Regions from separate parts of the Homo sapiens genome. Here region 2 is linked to region 1. The links are contacts of gene promoters, found by promoter capture Hi-C in blood cells and fetal thymus (Javierre and others, 2016). All regions are on one chromosome and are shown on one strand. The core of a region is centred on a gene start or on the middle of the fragment in contact, and the rest is flanking DNA. Distances in the headings are between cores, read along the strand shown.

Region 1 (4,118 bases), core at 1,115-3,614:
ACTGTAGGGCCTGCAGGAGAGGCTGGGCCCCCAGGGCCTCCTGGGCTGCAGGGACCCCCAGGCCCTGCTGGACCTCCAGGATCACCAGGCAAGGACGGGCAAGAGGGCCCCATCGGGCCACCAGGTATGTGCACTGAGACCCTTGCTGCAGTCAGGGTTGCCACTGCCCCCTCCAACCCTGACCCCCGCTGGCAGCCCCAGGCTTGACATTCCACTCTGAACTTGACAAGGGGAATTGGGTACTACCTGACCGATAAGGGAAAATCAGAGGAAAGTGAGGAGGAACTGTGATAGTCACTGTGTTTGGTTAATGGGTATTAGGAGGCTAATGGATAATGTTGGCCCCACTGCAGTACTGGAGACTAAAGCTGAGTCTATTATAGCTGTCTGGGGTGTGAAAGGCTGGGATGGCCCAGCAGTTGAACAGAATGGACCCTACCTATTCCTGTTTTTCTTGATACCCCAATTCCTGCTTTGAAGTCCACGTAGCACCGAGCACAACAGGAGAGCCTCAGCAGATGTTTGCTGAGTGACTTAGTGAGAGCTGCTTTATTTCTCACTGCTCCCTTTCCTCTTCTCACAGGTCCTCAAGGTGAACAGGGTGAGTGCCTTTCATTTGATTCTGGAGGGAGAAGTGACTAGGGGTTGGAGGATAGAGGTCCTCGGGCAGCCCTGGGCTGGGGATCCAGCAGGGGAAGGGGGCTGGCACTCTGCCCTGAGCATCCCCTTTAACATCCACCCTTCCCACTCAGGAGTGGAGGGGGCACCAGCAGCCCCTGTGCCCCAAGTGGCATTTTCAGCTGCTCTGAGTTTGCCCCGGTCTGAACCAGGCACGGTCCCCTTCGACAGAGTCCTGCTCAATGATGGAGGCTATTATGATCCAGAGACAGGTAGTCCTGGGAGGGGCTGGGTTGAACGGTTGGAGAAATGGGTGAGGTGTGCAGTGATATCTTCCCATTCTTGCCTTTTCCGACAGTGTGAATCTTCATTCTCTGATTTGGGGAGACCCCGGCTCTTTCTTCATTTATTCATTCTCAGGCAGTGGGGAGAAGAAGTAGTCATTCATTCATTCAGCAGATCTTTACTGGGGCCTGCTCCTGCCCAGGCACTGTTTTAAGTGCTGGGAATGCATAGTGAACAAAGCCCCCAGTTCCCTGCCGCTCACATTCCAGTGAGGTGAAAAGACCCAGAGGGTCCCTCCTCAGTCCAGGAGTTCTGGTGCGCTCCCCGGAGCTTCCCTGGCCCCCCTGACTGCTATCCTTGTCCCCAGGCGTGTTCACAGCGCCACTGGCTGGACGCTACTTGCTGAGCGCGGTGCTGACTGGGCACCGGCACGAGAAAGTGGAGGCCGTGCTGTCCCGCTCCAACCAGGGCGTGGCCCGCGTAGACTCCGGTGGCTACGAGCCTGAGGGCCTGGAGAATAAGCCGGTGGCCGAGAGCCAGCCCAGCCCGGGCACCCTGGGCGTCTTCAGCCTCATCCTGCCGCTGCAGGCCGGGGACACGGTCTGCGTCGACCTGGTCATGGGGCAGCTGGCGCACTCGGAGGAGCCGCTCACCATCTTCAGCGGGGCCCTGCTCTATGGGGACCCAGAGCTTGAACACGCGTAGACTGGGGTCCCGCCCGACGTGTCTACGTCGGCTGAAGAGACAGCGGGGGCGGCGGGCTCCTGGGGTCTCGCCTGAGACGGGGCACCTAGCCCTGGGCGAGCGCCGCACCCGGGCCCGCAGCGGCACCGCGCCCAGAGCGGCCTCTCCCCACGCCCGGGGCGCGCCGGCTCAGGGAGGCTCGGGGCCGCCCATGCAGACTTTTGGCCTGGCGCGATCCCCCAAGAACCCCTCCAGGGCCGGCCTGCGGAGGAGCCGATCCTCGCACCCTCCGCTCCCTCCACTGGCCCTCCAGGTCGATTCCCTGGGCTCCAGGCTCCCCCGCGCGGGCGCCGCCCACCGCCATACTAAACGATCGAGGAATAAAGACACTTGGTTTTTCTAAAAAAAACTAAACGAACCGTTCTGCTACGGTACGGGGTCGGGGGCTGCCGGGCGTGCACAGGGCACGGGGCGGGAGAGACGACGGCCTCCGGAGAGGACCCCGGGTTCCGCACTGCGTTCGCCGCCTCCGCCCGGCTCGGGGCGGCTCGGGGTTGGCTCAGGCAGCAAGCGGCGCCCGCCCGGCTCCTGCGACGTCTCCCCCGTGTCACGCCCGTTTCGCCGGCGTCCGCCAGGGGGCGCTCTGCGTTCCCGCCACGTGAGGCTGCGGCCCACCCGGCGGGTCCTGCTCCTCCGCGGCGGAGGCGTGGCCTCGGCTGGGACTAACCGGGGCGGGGCGGGGCGGGGCGGGGCGGGGCCGCCGCGACCGCGGGCTTCAGGCAGGGCTGCAGATGCGAGGCCCAGCTGTACCTCGCGTGTCCCGGGTCGGGAGTCGGAGACGCAGGTGCAGGAGAGTGCGGGGCAAGTAGCGCATTTTCTCTTTGCATTCTCGAGATCGCTTAGCCGCGCTTTAAAAAGGTTTGCATCAGCTGTGAGTCCATCTGACAAGCGAGGAAACTAAGGCTGAGAAGTGGGAGGCGTTGCCATCTGCAGGCCCAGGCAACCTGCTACGGGAAGACCGGGGACCAAGACCTCTGGGTTGGCTTTCCTAGACCCGCTCGGGTCTTCGGGTGTCGCGAGGAAGGGCCCTGCTCCTTTCGTTCCCTGCACCCCTGGCCGCTGCAGGTGGCTCCCTGGAGGAGGAGCTCCCACGCGGAGGAGGAGCCAGGGCAGCTGGGAGCGGGGACACCATCCTCCTGGATAAGAGGCAGAGGCCGGGAGGAACCCCGTCAGCCGGGCGGGCAGGAAGCTCTGGGAGTAGCCTCATGGAAGAGAAGCAGATCCTGTGCGTGGGGCTAGTGGTGCTGGACGTCATCAGCCTGGTGGACAAGTACCCTAAGGAGGACTCGGAGATAAGGTAGGGGCGCCCAGGTCCCCTAGGGGACCCCAGGGGCTGCTGCAGTCCAGCATTTGTGCCAGCGACCGAGGCTGCAGAGACCCCGCAGTGAGGCCCTGAGAACCCGGCTTCAAGGCCGGACCCGCGCCCTCTACCCGGGAATCCTGGGGGGGCTCCCAGCATGACAGAAGAGAGGAAGGAATTGAGGCCTTTAATAAGAAGACCCAGGATTTAATAGCATCGTGTTAGCCAATTTCCATTTCAACTCAGGCATCAGGTGTCAGGTGTCAGGCATCAGGATCCCCATTTTACTGATAAGTATAGATTCAGAGACCAAGGGGCTTATCCAGGGGCACACAGCTACCTGCTTCTGCTGTTTCTTTTTAAACCCCAAGCCTATGCACTTGCCTCTCATCAACATTTACTTCTAACTTATTTATCCACATATCTCGCACCTATTTCTGAGAAAGATTTGAGGTAGCTTACAGTAAAAAGTATGTACAGTTAAACTGTTGGAGAACATTTAAGACCATGGTATTTGAGCTTCAACTATAGCTCAGGGCTTGCTGGCACTGGAGGCAAACATGAGATGCCATGGGTTATGTATGGATAGAGCTGGTTCATGAGCCCTGGCAAGCTTTTTCCTGGTGCTAAATTCCAAGAGGAGTTTACCAGAAGTCCTTTTCACAGAGGTCAATGAACACCGTTTAGTAGTGGGAAATATCTTTCTCAGTTGTCTGCTAGAAACTGAAGAGTCAGTTGTTGGTTCTTTTTTTTTTTTTTTTTTTTTTTTTTTGAGACAGGGTCTCATTCTGTCGTCCAGGCTGGAGTGCAGTGGTGCAACCATGCTCACTGCAGCCTTGACCTCCAGACTCAAGTGATCCTCCCACCTCAGCCTCCTGAGTAGCTGGGACCACACATGCACGTCACCATCCCAGCTGTATTTTAAATTTTGTATAAGGGACGGGTTCTCACTATACTGATCAGAGTGGTCTTGAGCTCCTGGGCTCAAGCAGTCCTCCTGCTTTGGCCTCTCAAAGTACTGGGATTACAGGCATGAGCCACTGCACCCAGCCGATTTGTTGGTTCTTTTTCTTTTTGAGACAGAGTCTCGCTCTGTTGCCCAGGCTGGAATGCAGTGGCATGATCTTGGCTCACTGCAACCTCCGCCTCCTGGATTCAAGCGATTCTCCTG
Region 2 (4,118 bases), core at 1,036-3,535, 240 kb after region 1:
TTTGTATTTTTAGTAGAGACGGGGTTTCACCGTGTTAGCCAGGTTGGTCTCGATCTCCTGACCTCGTGATCTGCCCACCTCGGCGTCCCAAAGTGCTGGGATTACAGGTGTGAGCCACCGCGCCCAGTCCCTAAACTCAAGTTTTAAAAGAGGAAACTAAGGCTCAAAGAAGCTTACTGACTTGTCCTGATTAATGCACCTACTAGGTGCTATGGTTTTAAGATTCAAATCCTGGTCTTCTAAGTCTGAAATCTCTGTACTGTTTTCCAGTGTGATGAGCTATCCCATGGGACCTTAGGAACTACTGTGCTGGGGTCCAAAAATGGCTCAGTGAACTAAAGCCACTTCCACCTTTTATTTGTAGTTTGATCCAAATACAGTGAACAGCAGGAAAGGAAAAGTCTGGATGGTCTGAAAAAGTCTGGGAAAAGTGCTGGGAGGCTACATTTTGCTTCAGGGCTGAGCTGGGACGTCAGCATAGCCTCAGGAAGACTGAGGCTGTGGAGCTGAAGGGCTCCAGCACCAAGAGCCCAGAACTCCAGCCACATGTCGGCACCTAGGCCTCCTTGGAGCTCTAGCTCCTGCCCTTGTCAGCTGCAGATGCCTCAGGTAGGGAAATATAAGGACTCTTTCCCTCCCTATTCTTGATGACCACAAGGGGGAATCTTCCATCTGGCAGTTATGGGCCCTGAGGGAATCTGAGCCTGGGCAAAGGGCCCAGCGTGTCAGTTCCCATCATAGCCACACTGTCCAGCATGAGTCACCACACACGTAGCCAGGTGAGTCATACAGGCTGACGGACGCTGAGGACAGGACAAGAGGTGGTTGGGCACCGGAGACTGGAGAGGGGCCCAGGGAAGGGCCAAAGAATCCATCTCCTGGCCATTCATGCAGTTAAGTTTCTGTGCCGATGCAGGGCTGTTCTGGTCACAGGATCCCTGTTCCACTCTGGCCTTCAGTAGCCCCCAATCCCTTCCAATAGTCCTCTTCTCAGAAGGCCAGTCATCACTAGAATCCTGTTCCCCTTCTCTAAACATGGGCAAGACCTCATCTTAATGTGATCACTCTTTGCACCCCAATGTTCTAAGGCCTTCTGACATTCCCCCTCTAAGACTTACTTATCTTCATGCCATCCTCTTACATTAGCTAACTTGCAAAATGAAGATGGTAACAAATGCAGGTAGGTCACTGCATTACCTCTGTGAGGTTAGTACTCAATCACTGCATTTGGAGTGACTGGTATCTGATCACTCCAAATGGATCAGGATGGAGTGATCAGATACCAATATACTAACCTTGGAGATACATATTTAGGCAGTAAATGATAACAAAAGCAAATGAACGATATAAACAAAACTCAGGAAATTTTGGGTGAATTACGGAGAGGCACTCAAGAGGTCTCAAAGCTGATTACTGACACAGGAGTGTTCAGTTTTAATGCCATTTAAACTGTACATACACATCTTAATCATTCTTTTGTATGTTTCACAATAAAAAATACCAAGAAAAACTGGGGTAAGAGTCTTGATTCAGCACTTATTAGGTGTGATCTAATGTGGACTCAAGTAACCCTCCTAGCTCACACACCTTTGTGGGGGCCCTATGCCATAACGTATATGAAAGTGCTTTGCATACGGTAAAATGTTTTCCAAGTTGAGGCCTCCTGGGGCAATGCCTTTATCCTTCAGGGCTGACTGTTCAGCTTTTTGAGGACTTTGAAATCCTAAAACCCTACTGCACAGCTTGGCCAACTACGCATACCCCTTAAAAACAGCCTTGGGGACCACCCTCCAAAACAGACTGGGGACAGTGTAGGATGAAAGACAGCCAACCCTTCAAGAGAGCCGAATAGAAACAGGAAGTGAGGGTGGTGCAGTGGGGCAAGCCTCTGGCTTCCAAATCAGTCTGCCCTGGTCCCACTCAAGTCCTAGAGGGACACTCACCAGCTGTCAGGACCTGTACTTTCCACGGGTGAGCGGCCAGGGCCCGCTGGTATGCCCGCCAGAGTGCCATGCTTCCTGTCAAGCCAAGAGGAGAGGGGGTCACCCCCACCGTCCCTCTCCACGACTAAGAAGCCGCCTGACATTCCCTTGTGCCCACTCCCTTCCCCTTCCCACTTCCAATGTGACTTAAAGGGGCAGAGGCCACATGAAGGATGCTTCCCAGACAGCTTCCTGTCGCAGGAGTCGCCTTAGACAATTGGGGAAGAGAGAAAGGCTGTGGGAAGCTATGGACTCCTGGTAGCAGCCACCAGCCACCCCAACCTCATTCCTGAAGCCAGACCACCTGGAAGCCTCCGTTCCCGACGGAGACACTCATGAGGACAGCTTTGCTCTGGCTTCTACCCAGAGCTTGGGTGCCTCAAAAGATAGCTTGGTCCGTCTCCAGATTCAGACTTGGTTGGAACCAGTTTGTAACCTTCCTGAGTCCAGCTCCAAACCGAAAATAGGGCCCGTCACTGCCCGGATATAGGATGACCACACACCTTGTGGGCACTCATGGCTTGCGACGCTTTAAGCCAGAGACCGCAGATCACCCGCCACTCACCTGAGCGCCGAGCCTCCCTCCCACGTGACAGGCTGGCCTAGGAACTTCCGCCACAAGTCCCGCCCCTTCCTCCCAGCGTCCTTCGGATTACGCAGCCAGGACAGGAATGGGGGTGGACCGAGCCATGAATACCCGTGGAGAGCGGCCTAACTCGGCCACCCACTCTGTGAGAGACCCCTTTTCCAGCTGGACTGTGCCGGACCCTGGTGTGGGGCCCGCCAGCCATATTTCTCACCTAAGTTCGACCCTCTGCCTCCTCCTGCCCCTTCTCTCCGCGCGAGACCCGGGCCTCTCTCAATCCGGTAGTCTCATTGTTCAGCCCACCCTCCCCGCATAACTGGCCATAACTACGATCCTTGTCTCAGCAATCGTAGTTAGGGAACTATAAGTTATAGTTAAGTGCGTGTTTTGTCTCTAGGTTCTTCACTGGCCTCAACTGTGAGCTCATGAGTGGGTAAAACTGGGGTCGTTCATATTTGTCGTCCTCATAGCAACTATTTCAGTGCTTTGCCGCAAACAGCCACTTAAGAAATACTGCGTATGTATGATTCTTCCACAGAAAGCATTGGAATTAGAACCTCAGAAGACATTAGGTATTGGCTCCCAAACTAACGGGCTGTGCAGCCTTGGTCATGACTAGACTTGATGTTAAGGCTCTGCATCTGTAAAATGAGGGAGGTTACACTATTGACTTTCCAAACTCGGCTCCTCAGTTCTAGGGATTTTTCAGATGTTTGTGTGTGGGGATGAGAGGGGCAGCATTACTACAGCTGCTTCTCCAACTTTTTTTTCCAAGTATATACTTCTCAAAAGACCCATTTTTAACGGGGCCCACAACTGCATGTTTGAAAACCAGTAAGCTAGGTGATTTCTTAATCCCCTTCCAGCTCTAACATTCTAAGAGTCTGTGAATATAGAGCAATATCCTTTCTAGAGCGTTGGAAATGTCTACAATATCCCTGGCAATGGACTTGTCAGGCTGGCAGGCTTTACTTATCTCCAGGGAGCCCACACGTCAGGAGGCACACTCTTTCAGGCTCTCCACCTGCCCAGCTCCACCCCCAATTTACTCAATTCCTTTATGATTAAGGCAGGGAGACTCCTGCCACAAATCCTGGAGAAACAGAGTAAGGAAGCAAGAGAAGTCAATGTCACAAACATTTAACTAAAATGCTATTTGCAAAACAGCATGCTAGAGGAGTGAACTGACAAAAGTAAATGTAATAGGAGACCAAATGTGGTAGGCTGTAAAGTTATATTCTGAAGTTAGACTGAGTTCAAATCCCCAGCACCACCACTTACTAGTTATATGACCTTGACCTTTTACAGACAGCTTACCCTCTCCAACTCTTTTATCATTAAGTAAAATGGCAATACCTACCTCATACAAGTGACACATGCGAAGTGCCTAAAATGGATCAAGTGCTTAATGCTTGTTTATCCTTTTTCCTCCCTTCCCCCTTGGGAACACAAGGGAGGGAAACTATTTTTTACTGGAGAAAACTGGGAAGCTCTTTGGTGAAGGTGGAATTTGAGCCGGGACCTTGAAGGATGAATTGAACTCAGGTGAA

What was found. Contacts are between HindIII fragments. The CHiCAGO score rates a contact against its expected background, and 5 or more counts as called.
Region 2: a fragment that was not itself captured here is called in contact with the fragment with the promoter of KHK in region 1 in 14 of 17 cell types (naive B cells, naive CD4 T cells, naive CD8 T cells and 11 more); the score reaches 11.3 in naive B cells.

The regions. Positions count from the first base shown.
Region 1 is chr2:27,084,408-27,088,525 of GRCh38, forward strand. It overlaps KHK (ketohexokinase), which reads left to right and starts at 2,365. Exons shown (of 8, transcript NM_006488.3): 1 at 2,365-2,944. The coding sequence starts at 2,853. It overlaps EMILIN1 (elastin microfibril interfacer 1), which reads left to right. Exons shown (of 8, transcript NM_007046.4): 5 at 8-124; 6 at 584-601; 7 at 753-890; 8 at 1,271-1,996. The coding sequence ends at 1,608. RefSeq lists enhancers at 1,349-1,568, 2,559-2,618 and silencers at 1,699-1,858, 1,909-2,368. The HindIII fragment of the contact is 6,666 bases long and covers 1-3,558 here.
Region 2 is chr2:27,320,505-27,324,622 of GRCh38, forward strand. It overlaps MPV17 (mitochondrial inner membrane protein MPV17), which reads right to left and starts at 2,593. Exons shown (of 8, transcript NM_002437.5): 1 at 2,548-2,593; 2 at 1,944-2,018. The coding sequence starts at 2,013. RefSeq lists enhancers at 1,988-2,037, 2,048-2,137, 2,148-2,197, 2,248-2,307, 2,430-3,402 and 3 more. The HindIII fragment of the contact is 4,230 bases long and covers 171-4,118 here.